2 separate regions of the Homo sapiens genome follow, and region 2 is linked to region 1. Evidence: promoter capture Hi-C in 16 types of primary human blood cells and fetal thymus (Javierre and others, 2016). All regions are on one chromosome and are shown on one strand. Each heading gives the region's core, a stretch centred on a gene start or on the middle of the fragment in contact. The rest is flanking DNA. Distances are from core to core; before and after follow the strand shown.

What was found. Contacts are between HindIII fragments. The CHiCAGO score rates a contact against its expected background, and 5 or more counts as called.
Region 2: a contact is called between the fragment with the promoter of TMEM256 here and a fragment that was not itself captured in region 1, in 11 of 17 cell types (total CD8 T cells, naive B cells, naive CD4 T cells and 8 more). The highest score is 7.7, in total CD8 T cells.

The regions. Positions count from the first base shown.
Region 1 is chr17:7,592,978-7,599,338 of GRCh38, reverse strand. It overlaps FXR2 (FMR1 autosomal homolog 2), which reads left to right. Exons shown (of 17, transcript NM_004860.4): 8 at 3,345-3,515; 9 at 4,582-4,660; 10 at 4,992-5,101; 11 at 5,335-5,421; 12 at 5,714-5,936; 13 at 6,158-6,355. Among named protein-coding and RNA genes, the nearest start is that of SOX15, 6.1 kb to the right of the region's middle. The HindIII fragment of the contact is 5,554 bases long and covers 1,880-6,361 here.
Region 2 is chr17:7,400,433-7,406,162 of GRCh38, reverse strand. It overlaps TMEM256 (transmembrane protein 256), which reads left to right and starts at 2,066. Exons shown (of 4, transcript NM_152766.5): 1 at 2,066-2,163; 2 at 2,474-2,505; 3 at 2,773-2,853; 4 at 2,954-3,188. The coding sequence starts at 2,079. The coding sequence ends at 3,097. TMEM256-PLSCR3 (TMEM256-PLSCR3 readthrough (NMD candidate)) reads left to right here and starts at 2,032. Exons shown (of 10, transcript NR_037719.1): 1 at 2,032-2,163; 2 at 2,474-2,505. It also overlaps a transcript of NLGN2 not described here. RefSeq lists a silencer at 1,258-1,587 and an enhancer at 2,078-2,257. The HindIII fragment of the contact is 6,317 bases long and covers 1-2,358 here.

The DNA of each region.
Region 1 (6,361 bases), core at 3,407-5,906:
ATACAAACTTTATTTTTTGTTTTTGTTTTTTGTTTTGAGATGGAGTCTCAGTCTGTTATCCAGGCTGGAGTGTATGTAGTGGTGCGATCTCAGCTCACTGCAGTCTCTACCCCCCGAGCTCAAGTGATCCTCTCACCTCAGCCTTTGGGTGGGTGGGATTACAGGTGCATGCCACCATACCTGGCTATTTTTTTTTTTTTTTTGGAGACAGTTTCCCTCTGTCACCCAGGCTGGAGTGCAATGGCACAATCTCCGCTCCCTGCAACCTCTCGCTCCTGGGTTCAAGCGATTCTTGTGCCTCGGCCTCCCAGGTAGCTGGGATAATAGGCACGCGCCCCCACGTCTGGATAATTTTTGCTTTTTTAGTGTTTCACCATGTTGCCCAGGCTGGTTTTGAACTCCCGACCGCAGGTGATCCACCTGCCTTGGCCTCCCAAAGTACTGGGATTACAGGCATGAGCCACTATACCTGGCCCTAATTTCAGTATTTTTAGTAGAGACGGAGTTTCACCATGTTGGCTAGGCTGGTCGCGAACCCCTGGCCTCAAGGGATCCACTTGCCTTGGCCTCCCAAAGTGCTGGGATTATAGACATGACCCATTGCACCCGGCCTAATTTTTGTTGTTGTTTTTTAATTTTTTGAGACGGAGTCTCATTCTGTCGTCCAGGCTGGAGTGCAGTAGTGCGATCTCAGCTCACTGCAGCTTGTGTAGTTAGCGCAGAGTGAGCAAAGGGAGACCGATACAAAATTCGGTCAGAGAGTAGATCATGTAAGACATGTACGGTAGGCTGAGGAGGGGGGATTTTATTGTGCGTATACTGAGAAGCCATTGAGTTAACAGTGCCTTCTGGTTTTTTGTTTTGTTTTGTTTTGTTTTGTTTTTGAGACGGAGTCTCGCTCTGTCACCCAGGCTGGAGTGCATTGGCGTGATCTCGGCTCACTGCAAGCTCCACCTCCCAAGTTCACGCCATTCTCCTGCCTCAGCCTCACGAGAAGCTGGGACTACAGGCGCCTGCCACCACGCCCGGCTGATTTTTTTGTATTTTTTTTTAGTAGAGATGGGGTTTCACCGTGTTAGCCAGGATGGTCTTGATCTCCTGACCTCGTGATCCACCCACCTCGGCCTCCCAAAGTGCTGGGATTACAGGCGAGAGCCACTGTGCCCGGCCGAAAGTGCCTTCTGTTTTAAACTCCTGTTTCAATGACAGATGGAAAGGGGGGCAAGAATGGAAGCAGGAACAGAGCACAGTAGTCCAGGTGAGAAACTTGAACTGGAGTGCTAAAGGAAGAGAGAGAGAGTAGTTTTATGTAGGATAAATTTTACGAGTAAAACCAGTAGGACTGACAGGCTCTGTGATACTGAGAGATACATATTTGGTCTCCTGACCAGGCTCCTGGCATTCAACTTCTAAAATCCTTGGAATCTCCAGTGATGTGTGTTTTTGTGTGCTGATGAGTTGATTCATGGCTAGCCCCTCTAGGTGGCTTCATGATTAGAGGGTTGGAACTTTCAGCCTCACCCCCACCAACTTCCTGGGAGGGGAATGGGGCCAAAGGTTAAGGCAATCACTGAGGATCAGTGATTTAATCAGTCATGCCTAGTAGTGAAGCCTCTAAAAACCGGAAAGGGGCCGGGTGCAGCGGCTCACGCCTGCAATCCCAGCACTTTGGGAAGCCGAGGCAGGTGGATTGCCTGAGGTTAGGAGTTTGAGACCAGTCTGGCCAGCATGGTGAAACCCCTTCTCTACTAAAAATACAAAAAAAGGGAGGCAGAAGTTGCAGTGAGCAGAGATCATGCCACTGCACTCTAGCCTGGGTGACAGACCCCATCTCAAAAAAAAGAAAAAAAAAAAAGAAAACCCAGCTGTTCTGCAAGCTTATCTAGAAGACGCTTATAGGTCATTGTAGATCTCTTCCCCTCCCCTCCTAATGTAGTGATTTTGAACACTCAACTTAGTTTATTTTTCCAACTTTCTCTTCTTGCCTGGTATAAATCCTTGGTATAATTCAGTCCTATCCAACTTGGAAGTGGGAAGTAGTGTATTTCAATCTAGGAATGTCTCCTTTCAGGTATTGTTTCTATTTGGTGCTTACAACATGGGATTCACTCCTCTAAAACCTTTCCTGTCTTCCTGCCCCTGAACCCAGGGGTTCCTCTAAGGACTGATTGAGAAATGAAGTGAAAGCCTGGTGTTCTAGAGGCATGTTTTCTGTTTTTCTTAACCCCTCACTTTTTTTTGAGACAGAGTTTTGCTCTGTCACCAGGCTGGAGTGCAGTGGCATGACCTCGGCTCACTGTAACCTCCAACTCCCTGGTTCAAGCAATTCTCCTGCCTCAGCCTCCCAAGCAGCTGGGATTATAGGCACACCCCACCAAGGCCAGCTAATTTTTGTATTTTTAATAGAGATGGGGTTTCACTATGTTGGCAGGATGGTCTTGATCTCCTGACCTTGTGATCCACCTGCCTCAGCCTCCCACAGTGCTGGAATTACAGGCGTGAGCCACCGCGCACAGCCTACCCCTCACTTTTTACTTAAGTTGTTGAGTTTTATTTGGGGATGAGTTGATATTTGTTTGATTAAGGTAAGAGTTCCTTACACTTGCATGTACCTTGTGAGAAGTACTTTCACACCAGCCTTGTCTAATCCTCTTGCTAGTCTTGAGAATAAGATAAGTTGGATATAATCACTTAGCAGATGACACAAGAGGCAGAGTATGTTTTGTTTAAGATCACACAGATAGATACTCTTAGGGACAGATACTGTTAGGGCCAAATCCAGAACTTCGGTGTGTCCCAGTCCAAACTCTGCCCTCTTTACCTTTCCTCCCCCACAAACCACTGGTATTTGGAAGGAGTGGAATTAAAAGTTCCTGACCTTGGCCGGGCGTGGTGGCTTATGCCGGTAATCCCAGCACTTTGGGAGGCTGAGGCGGGCGGATCACCTGAGGTCAGGAGTTTGAGACCAGCCTGGCCAACATGGTGAAACCTTGTCTCTACTAAAAATACAGAAATTAGCCAGGCATGGTGGTGGACACCTGTAGTCGTAGCTACTCAGGAGGCCGAGGCATGAGAATCACTTGAAGTCGAGAGGCGGAGGTTGCAGTGAGCTGAGATCGCGCCACTGCACTCCAGCCTGGGCGACAGAGCGAGACGCCATCTCAAAGAAAAAACAAAAAGTTCCTGACCTTTCCACACAGGTCCTCGTGGTCCGCGGACTCCAGAGTGGTTCTAGCTTTCTATTAATATCACACAGTTTTCCTTATTTAAGTTATGCAAAGGGTCGTGTGCCTGGGACTGTGAGATTCTACCACCATGATTCCTACAGTGACTTTTCCTTTCAGACAAGCAAGCAGTTGGCAGCAGCCTTCCAAGAGGAGTTCACAGTGCGAGAGGACCTGATGGGACTGGCAATTGGGACTCACGGTGCCAACATCCAGCAGGCCCGAAAAGTACCTGGGGTGACCGCCATTGAGTTGGGTGAAGAGACCTGCACTTTCCGCATCTATGGGGAGGTCAGCAAAGGATGTCTTTCTTCTGGGTCTCTTAGGGGATAGAGGGAAGAGAGGCCGAAGTAGAAAATAAGCCTCAAACTGGGCACAGTGGCTCACACCTGTAATCCCAGCACCTTCGGAGGTCAAAGTGAGAGGATCACTTGAGCCTAGGAGTTTGAGACCAGCCTGTGCAACATAGTGAGACCCAATCTCTACAAAAATTTAAAAATTAGCTGGAAGTAGTGGTGCGTACCTGTAGTCGCAGGTACTTGGGAGGCTGAAATGGGAAGATAGAGGGGAGGATCACTTGAGCCTGGGAGTTGGAGAACAACCTGGACAACATAGAGAGACCCTGTCTTTACCCCCCAAAAAAACCAAAAACCAAAAAACGTTAACTGAGCGTGGTGGCATGCATCTGTGGCCCCAGCTACTTGGCTACTTGGGAGGCGGAGGCAGGAGGATCACTTGAGCCTGGAAAGTCAAGGCTGCAGTACACCATGATGGTGCCACTGAACCAACCTGGGCAACATAGTCAATAGAGTGAGACCAAAAAATCAAAAAAATAGACCAGATCTCTGTTGCCCAAGCTGGTTGTTAACTCCTAGCCTCAAGCAATCCTCCCTTCTTAGCCTCCGAAACTGTTGAGATTATGGGTGTGAGCCGCTGTGCCTGGCCAAGGTCCTCTGTTTTTTTTTTTAAGTTATTTATTTGTTTAATTTTTTTTTTTTATGAGATGGAGTCTAACTCACTCTGTTGCCCGGGCTAGAGTGCAGTGGCACAATCTCAGCTTATTGCAACCTCTGCCTCCTGGGTTCAAGAAATCTCCTGCCTCAGCCTCCGGAGTAGCTGGGATTAGAGACGTGAGCCACCAATTTTGTATTTTTAGTATTTTAGTATTTTTGTATTTTGATTTTTGTATTTTTAGTAGAGATGGCGTTTCACCATATTGCCCAGGCTAGTCTTGAACTCTTGAGCTCAATTTATCCACCTGCCTCCAGCCTCCCAAAGTGCTGGGATTACAGGCGTGAGCCACCACATCCAGCTGGTCTTCTGTTTTAGTAACAACTCCCTGCTGTTCTTCCTTTAGACTCCCGAGGCTTGCCGACAGGCCCGAAGCTACCTTGAGTTTTCTGAGGACTCAGTGCAAGTGCCCAGGAACCTGGTTGGTGAGTTGGTGGTGTGTATATACAGTTAGAGGTCAGAATCAAGATTCTCTACAGTGATTCTGAGCTTTTATCCAGGATTGGCACCTCCCTGTGGACTCCCAGTTTCACAAGGACAGAGAAACAGTCTGTAATGGGAGTGATAAAAATGAAAGAATAAATTTCTAGGGATTGTAACATTTTGTCCTGTAAAAACACATCAGAAACCTAGAAGCAGGAGAATGAAGTAAATGGAATCCATATAAAGAAAATGAGGCTGGAAGACGGTGTATCAGCTTTATTCTTATTTCCTTAAAAAAAATAAAAGGCTGAATTCCTCATTTACCTATTCCAGGCAAAGTGATTGGAAAGAACGGGAAAGTGATCCAGGAGATTGTGGATAAATCTGGTGTGGTGAGGGTTCGAGTGGAAGGTGATAATGACAAGAAGAACCCCAGGGAGGAGGTATGGGTACGGGGCAAGTGGGCATAGAGATTGGTTTCCAGAAGTAAATGGGATTGTCCTCTGAGGGCTGGGATTGTTCTTTGAGAGGGTGGAGTACGGAAAGTTGTTTAACACTAGTAGATTTAGAGCCCAGAATGATCCCACTGGGCAGGCTCCCCTAGGAGACTGGGCGGCGTTAATCCTTCCATTTCATTTTCCTTTCTGATCCATCGTTTCTGCTCTCTGTTCTCTAGGGAATGGTTCCCTTCATTTTTGTTGGCACCCGAGAGAACATCAGCAATGCCCAGGCTTTGCTGGAGTATCACCTCTCCTACCTGCAGGTACCCAGGCCGGGAGAGAAAAATGCTGGGTGTGAAAAGGGAACTAAGACTGCTGTGGGGGTCAGCTCAGGGATTTTGGTTCTCTGTTTGTCTCTCCGTGTAGAACAGAAAACATCTGTGGAAATTTGGGGCTATAGGGTTGGGTCCCAGAATTTTCCTTGTTTAGCCAGTGTCTTCCTTCTCCCTGCATTCCTGAGAGGTTAGATATAGAGGGACAGTCAGGGTGCAGAAGCATGAAGCAAGGCACTGATCTTATTTCTCCTTCCCCTTCTTCCATCTTTTACCCAACCAGGAGGTAGAGCAGCTTCGCTTGGAGAGGCTACAAATTGATGAGCAGCTTCGGCAGATTGGGCTGGGCTTTCGCCCTCCTGGGAGTGGGCGGGGCAGCGGTGGCAGCGACAAGGCTGGATATAGCACTGATGAGAGCTCCTCCTCCTCCCTCCATGCGACTCGAACCTATGGGGGCAGCTATGGGGGCCGTGGCCGTGGCCGGAGGACAGGCGGTCCTGCCTATGGTGAGACAGTTATGGGAACAGGAGGCAAGGAGTGGCAGGGCTTGTGGGTAGAGGCAGAGGTCTGGATGGAAGTTTGGGGAAATCTGGAATGGAGATGATGAAAAAGTGATTGATTGGCTGGGAGGCTTGTGAGTGAGAAGGAGAATTCTTCCAGTTTGGGGGATGTGATGGATCCTGAGGTGGGATGAATGGCCGTGAATAAATCCCATTGTGTTCTTCAGGCCCCAGCTCAGATGTGTCTACAGCTTCAGAGACTGAGTCAGAGAAGAGAGAGGAGCCCAACCGAGCTGGGCCTGGCGACAGGGATCCCCCAACCCGAGGGGAAGAAAGCCGGAGGCGGCCGACTGGGGGCCGGGGTAGGGGACCCCCACCTGCCCCCCGGCCCACTTCGAGATACAATTCTTCATCTATTAGCTCAGGTACCA
Region 2 (5,730 bases), core at 817-3,316, 190 kb after region 1:
TTTCTCTTCTGTATCTCTCTCCTTGGTGTTTCTCATTTCTTTCTCTCTCTCCAAATGCCTTCCCCAAATTTCCCCCTTAAGCCTTCTGTCTCTCTCTCCTGTCTTTCCCCATCACTGTCTCCCCCATTTTCTCTCCTCATCTCTGTCTGCCACATCTTGCTCCCTCCTCCTTCTCCCTATCCCTCTGCCTTCTCTCTCCATTCCTGCCCAGGCCTGACTCCCCCAGCCGGGGAGAGTTGAGGGACGGGGGCTCAGGCCGCAGGCCCCCCCTTCCTGCAGTGGTGAAAATGGCTTGGCTGGGAAGGGGAGAAGGAGGGGGAGGGGGAGATGGGAACACACGGGGTCTGTGGGCCCATTCAAAGGATCATTCATGGACTGGAGAGAGGCAGAGACAAAGAGACCAAGACGCAGAGACACGGCGAGAGCATCCCTAGGCGGAGACACGCAGACAGAGCAGGCTGGGGGAAACCAGGCGCAGGGAGGGAGATGGGGAGAGGGAGACCCCAGTGGACCGCCACGCAGCCCCCTCCACCGACCCGGCTTAGGTCCTACCTGGCTCAGCCCTGGGGCCGTGGTGCCTCCATCCAGGGCTCCGAGTGGGGGGCGAAAGGCCTTCGGGAGGGGGCGGCGGCCTCTGAGCCCCCGCGGCCCCGCAGGCCCAGCCCCCGCCCGCAGCGCCTCACCCGGCGGGGGAGGGGGATCGCCCCAGCCCCGGGGGGCGGGGCCGGGATCCAGTCGATCCCCGGGAAAAGGAGAGCTAGGGGATGGGATCAGGGGGAGCCCGAGAACAGGGAACCCCGCAGTAGGGACGATAGAGAAAGGAGGGGGCAACGGGACAGGACTAGATTGAGGATCCGCTGGTTCCGTGGGCCGGCTTCGAGGGACCAGAAGGCGGTCCAGGCGGAGGATCCTAAGGATCGGGTGCTGGAGGAGGAGTCCACGTTAATCCCCAGGGGCCCGGGGCCCGGGAGCGCAGGATCCGCGGTGCAGGGGCAGGGATCCAGCCGGAATCCTCGGGGAGGGGGAGGGATCTAGTCGATCCCGAGGGCGGGCGTGAGGGGGAGGTCCGGGGAGTCAGAGGAGGGCGGGAGCCGAGTCCAGAGCCCCGGGGCGGGGGTCAGCGCGGATCCTAGGAGGGAAGGCGGGGGTGAGGGGAGGCTTCGAGGGACGCTCAGCAGCCGGGAGGCCCGGACTCCTGGCTCCGCGCGCCAGGGCCGGCCCGCCCCGCGTCCATCCCAGCCCGAGAGTGATGATCCGCCGGCGGAGCAGCCGCAGCAGCCCCGCGCGTCACCGCGCGGCCGCCTCCCCCGCCCCCTGCCGAGAGAGCGGCGCACACCCCCCGCTCGCACCCCCCGCTCGCACCCGCCTGCCCGCCCGCCCTCCGGAGAATGGGGGGATTGGAGATGGTGGGAAGAGGCGGGAGCGGACAGACGGACAGATGGACGTAGCGGGCCAGGGCAGGGTGGAGACATTCCCCCGGATCTCCCACCCTCGGGGCTCTCGCGGTCTCGGAGGGCTGGCGGGGGGGAGAATATCTTAACTACAGGGGGCGGGGCATCATACAAAGAAGGCGGAGCCTTCAGACATGGGGGAGGGGCCATTTGTGCAGTGGGCGGGGTTTACTGGCAATAGGTGGGGCTTTGCTATCTTTCGGGCCGCCTCTTTTTGGTAGTGGGTTTGATTTGAAGCTGAACAGGAGGAGCCTGTGGAAAAAGGGGCGGAACTTTGAGAGAAGACCGGGATCTTTGGAAATTGGCCGGAGCATGGGGGTGGGGGGTTCGAAGAGGCGATCAACTTGGAAAGTGGGCCAATCCTTGACGCAAATCCCCCTAGTCCCGCCCTCAACCCCGCCCCCCCACTGCTTAGCTCCTCTGTTCCTAATTGGTGCTGGTTTCTCCGCCCGCCAGACGTCTTCGCCACTCTGCAGCGGTTTTACAAAGGCGGGTGAAGAGCGCAATGCTGAAATGAACACGGCCCGGATTGGGCGCCTGTGAACCTTATTTGCATGGGCGGTCGGGATTGGCTGGCCTCTTGGGTGGCCTGGGCGGCGTTGGTCCGGTGCGTCCTGTTCTACAGCTATGGCCGGGCCAGCTGCAGCTTTCCGCCGCTTGGGCGCCTTGTCCGGAGCTGCGGCCTTAGGCTTCGCTTCCTACGGGGCGCACGGTCAGGGGGCTGGGGACGAAGATGGGACTGTACTTGGGGCGTCCTCTGGGGTCTGCTGCAAGGGCGTAACCTATGGGAGGTGCCCGGCCTCTCGTTTATCAGACAGTCCGCGGAGCCCTAAACCTTTTAAAGTCCCCCAGCTGGGTCCAATTGGTTCCCAGTACTGCCCGAGCGTGTTCCCACCAATCGGAAGCTTCCTGGGGCGGGGGGGGGGGTGCCCTTTCTCGCCAATGTCCACCTGGGTCCCCCCGGATTGGGGGCGGTCAGGGCTGGCACTAGGACCGCTAACCTTTGCTTCTTTTCTCCACAGGCGCCCAATTCCCAGATGCCTACGGGAAGGAGGTGAAGTAACTGCGCTGGGGCTCCCTGACTCGTGGGTCTACGAAGGCACAAAGTCTGGGGTCCCTGGGGGAAGTGGGCGGGGAGAGGGTGGGGCGAGCCGCGGATCTCTGGAGCAGCAAAGGCCAAAGGCTCTGTAAGCCAAAGGCCTGGGATCAAGCTGGGACTTCAAGGGTGGGGTGGGGGAAGGAACTTTGGTCCCTTGTGTCATCAGGGGATCTCAGTACCTGTATTGCCTACGACATCCCTTCGTTTCTGTTTTTCTTACAGCTGTTTGACAAGGCCAACAAACACCACTTCTTACACAGCCTGGCCCTGTTAGGGGTGCCCCATTGCAGAAAGCCACTCTGGGTAATCTTTCCCTGCGCCTAACCCTGACCAAGCCCCACACACTCCCTCTCAGCCTGCCCTGTTCTTAACAATCCTGTTTTCTGTGCTGTGTCTCCTTCAGGCTGGGTTATTGCTAGCTTCCGGAACGACCTTATTCTGCACCAGCTTTTACTACCAGGCTCTGAGTGGAGACCCCAGCATCCAGACTTTGGCCCCTGCGGGAGGGACCCTGCTACTCTTGGGCTGGCTTGCCTTGGCTCTTTGAGCTCCCTTTTGCTTAATTACTGGGTTTTCTGGGCAGTTTTTTTTTTAAAGAGTTGGAGTAAGAAGAGGATTAAAAAGGAAAGGCAAATAAACTTTGGAGTCTTTGTTCATCTAACCTCTTGGAGGACGAAGGGTGGGGATTCAACCTCTGAACTCCCTCCATTTCCTAAGACTTAATCAGTGAGCCTTAGGTCTGGGGATTCTGGTCACTTTAAGTTAACTTATTATAATGTTCTTACCCTGGTGGGCATCAAAGTCATAAAGAATGCTTGAAATAACACAGATTCCTACTGAAGCACTCTTTCGGGCCTGAGAATCTGTATTTTAATAAGCTCATCTTGTGGTTCTGATGCATACTAGGTTTTTAATTTTATTATTATTATTATTATTATTTTGAGATGGAGTCTTGCTCTGTCGCCCAGGCTGGAATACAGTGGCGCGACCTCGGCTCACTGCAACCTCTGCCTCCCAGGTTCAAGCGATTCTCCTGCCTCGGCCTCCTGAATAGCTGGGATTACAGGCGCCTGCCACCATGCCCAACTAATTTTTTGTATTTTTAGTAGACACGGGGTTGTGCCATGTTGGCAAGGCTGGTTTTGAACTCCCGACCTCAGGTGATCCGCCTGCCTTGGCCTCCCAAAGTGCTGTGATTACAGGTATGAGCCACCACGCCCGGCCTGTTTTTATTTTTATTTTTATTTTTTTGAGACAGAGTTTCACTCTGTTGCCCAGGCTGGAGTGCAGTGGTGCGATTTTGGTTCACTGCAACCTCCACCTCCTGAGTTCAAGTGATTCTCCTGCCTCAGCCTCCCAAGTAGCTGAGATTATAGGTGCATGCCACCATGCCTGGCTAATTTTTGTATTTTTAGTAGAGATGGGGTTTCACCATATTGGCGAAGCTGGTCTTGAACTCCTGACCTCAAGCAATTCACCCGCCTCAGCCTCCCAAAGTACTGGGATTTTAAAAAATTACTATAGGGTCATGGTTTTCAGCCCTGTTGTTATCAGCACCCACTTACTCTAGAAGTGAGGATTAAGGCAAGGCAGGATAGGAGTGTCATTAGTTACAAAATACTTTGGGGTTCAAAGCAGGGACAGATCATGTATTGGGGATCAGAAAATGTGTCACAATGCTTGAGATGATCCTTAAAGGAGCTCTATTGTATGGAAGAAACAATGAACAAAGAACAAGATGGAGAGGGGAGGGGTTTGGAGAAGCAGGAGTCTTCAATGTGGGCTGAGTTTGAGTTAGGTAGGAAAGGAGTGAGAAAAGGTGGCAGGACAGGCTGGAGTGGCAGTCACAGCATGTAGAGAACTGGAAGATATTTAGTGGGGACAGTATTTATTTATTGTGACGCAGTCTTGCCCTGTTACCCAGGCAGGAGTGCAGTGGCACGATCTCAGCTCACTGCAACCTCCGCCTCCCGGGTTCAAGTGATTCTCCTGCCTCAGCCTCCCGAGTAGCTGGGATTACAGGCGCCCGCAACCGCGCCCGGCTAATTTTTGTATTTTTAGTAGAGACGGGGTTTTGCCATGTTGGCCAGGCTGGTCTCAAACTCCCGACCTCAAGTGATCCACCTGCCTCAGCCTTCCAAAGTGCTGGCATTACAGGTGTGAGCCACTGCTCCTGGCAGGCACAGTATTTATTAAACCAGTGTTGATCATGCGTCAGACACGTTACAAGGAAGATCAACCCTGAGGGAGACAGATATCCCCTCCCTCAAGGAGTTTCCCATCTAGTAGTGGAAATGGACCTGAAATAACTAAACATTTATAAAATTTGCAAAACATGTATCATTACAAATTGTGCTGCATGCTGAAAGGAAAGGAACAGAGAGGACCCTGTGCGATGGCTCAAGCCTGTGATCCCAACATTTTGGAAGGCGGACGTGGGAACATTGCTCGAGCCCAGGAGTTCGAGACCAGCCTGGATAACACAGGGAGACCCCTGTCTTTACAAAAATAAAAAAATAGCGAGGCGTGGTGGCTCACGCCTGTAATCCTAGCACTTTGGGAGGCCGAGGTGGGCGGATCACAAGGTCAGGAGATCGACACTATCCTGGCTAACACGGTGAAACCCCGTCTCTCCTGAAAATACAAAAAAAAATTAGCTGGGCGTGGTGCCGGGCGCCTGTAGTCCCAGCTACTCGGGAGGCTGAGGCAGGAGAATGGCATGAGGCTGAGGCAGGAGAATGGCATGAACCCAGGAGGCGGAGCTTGCAGTGAGCCGAGATAGTGCCACTGCACTCCAGCCTGGGCGACAGAGCGAGACTCCGTCTCAAAAAATAAATAAATGAATAAATAAAAATAAAAATAAAAATAAATAGCCATGGCCAGGTGCGGTGGCTCATGCCTGTAATCCCAGCACTTTGGGAGGCTGAGGCGGGTGGATCACGAGGTCAGGAGATCGAGACCATCCTGGCTAACACAGTGAAACCCCTGTCTCTACTAAAAATACAAAAAAATTAGCCGGGCATGGTGGTGGGAACCTGTGGTCCCAGCTACTCGGGAGGCTGAGGCAGGAGAATGGCGTGAACCCGGGAGGCGGAGCTTGCAGTGAGCCGCGATGGCGCCACTGCACTCCAGCCTGGGCGACAGAGCCAGACTCCGTCTCAAAAAAAAAAAAAAAAAAAA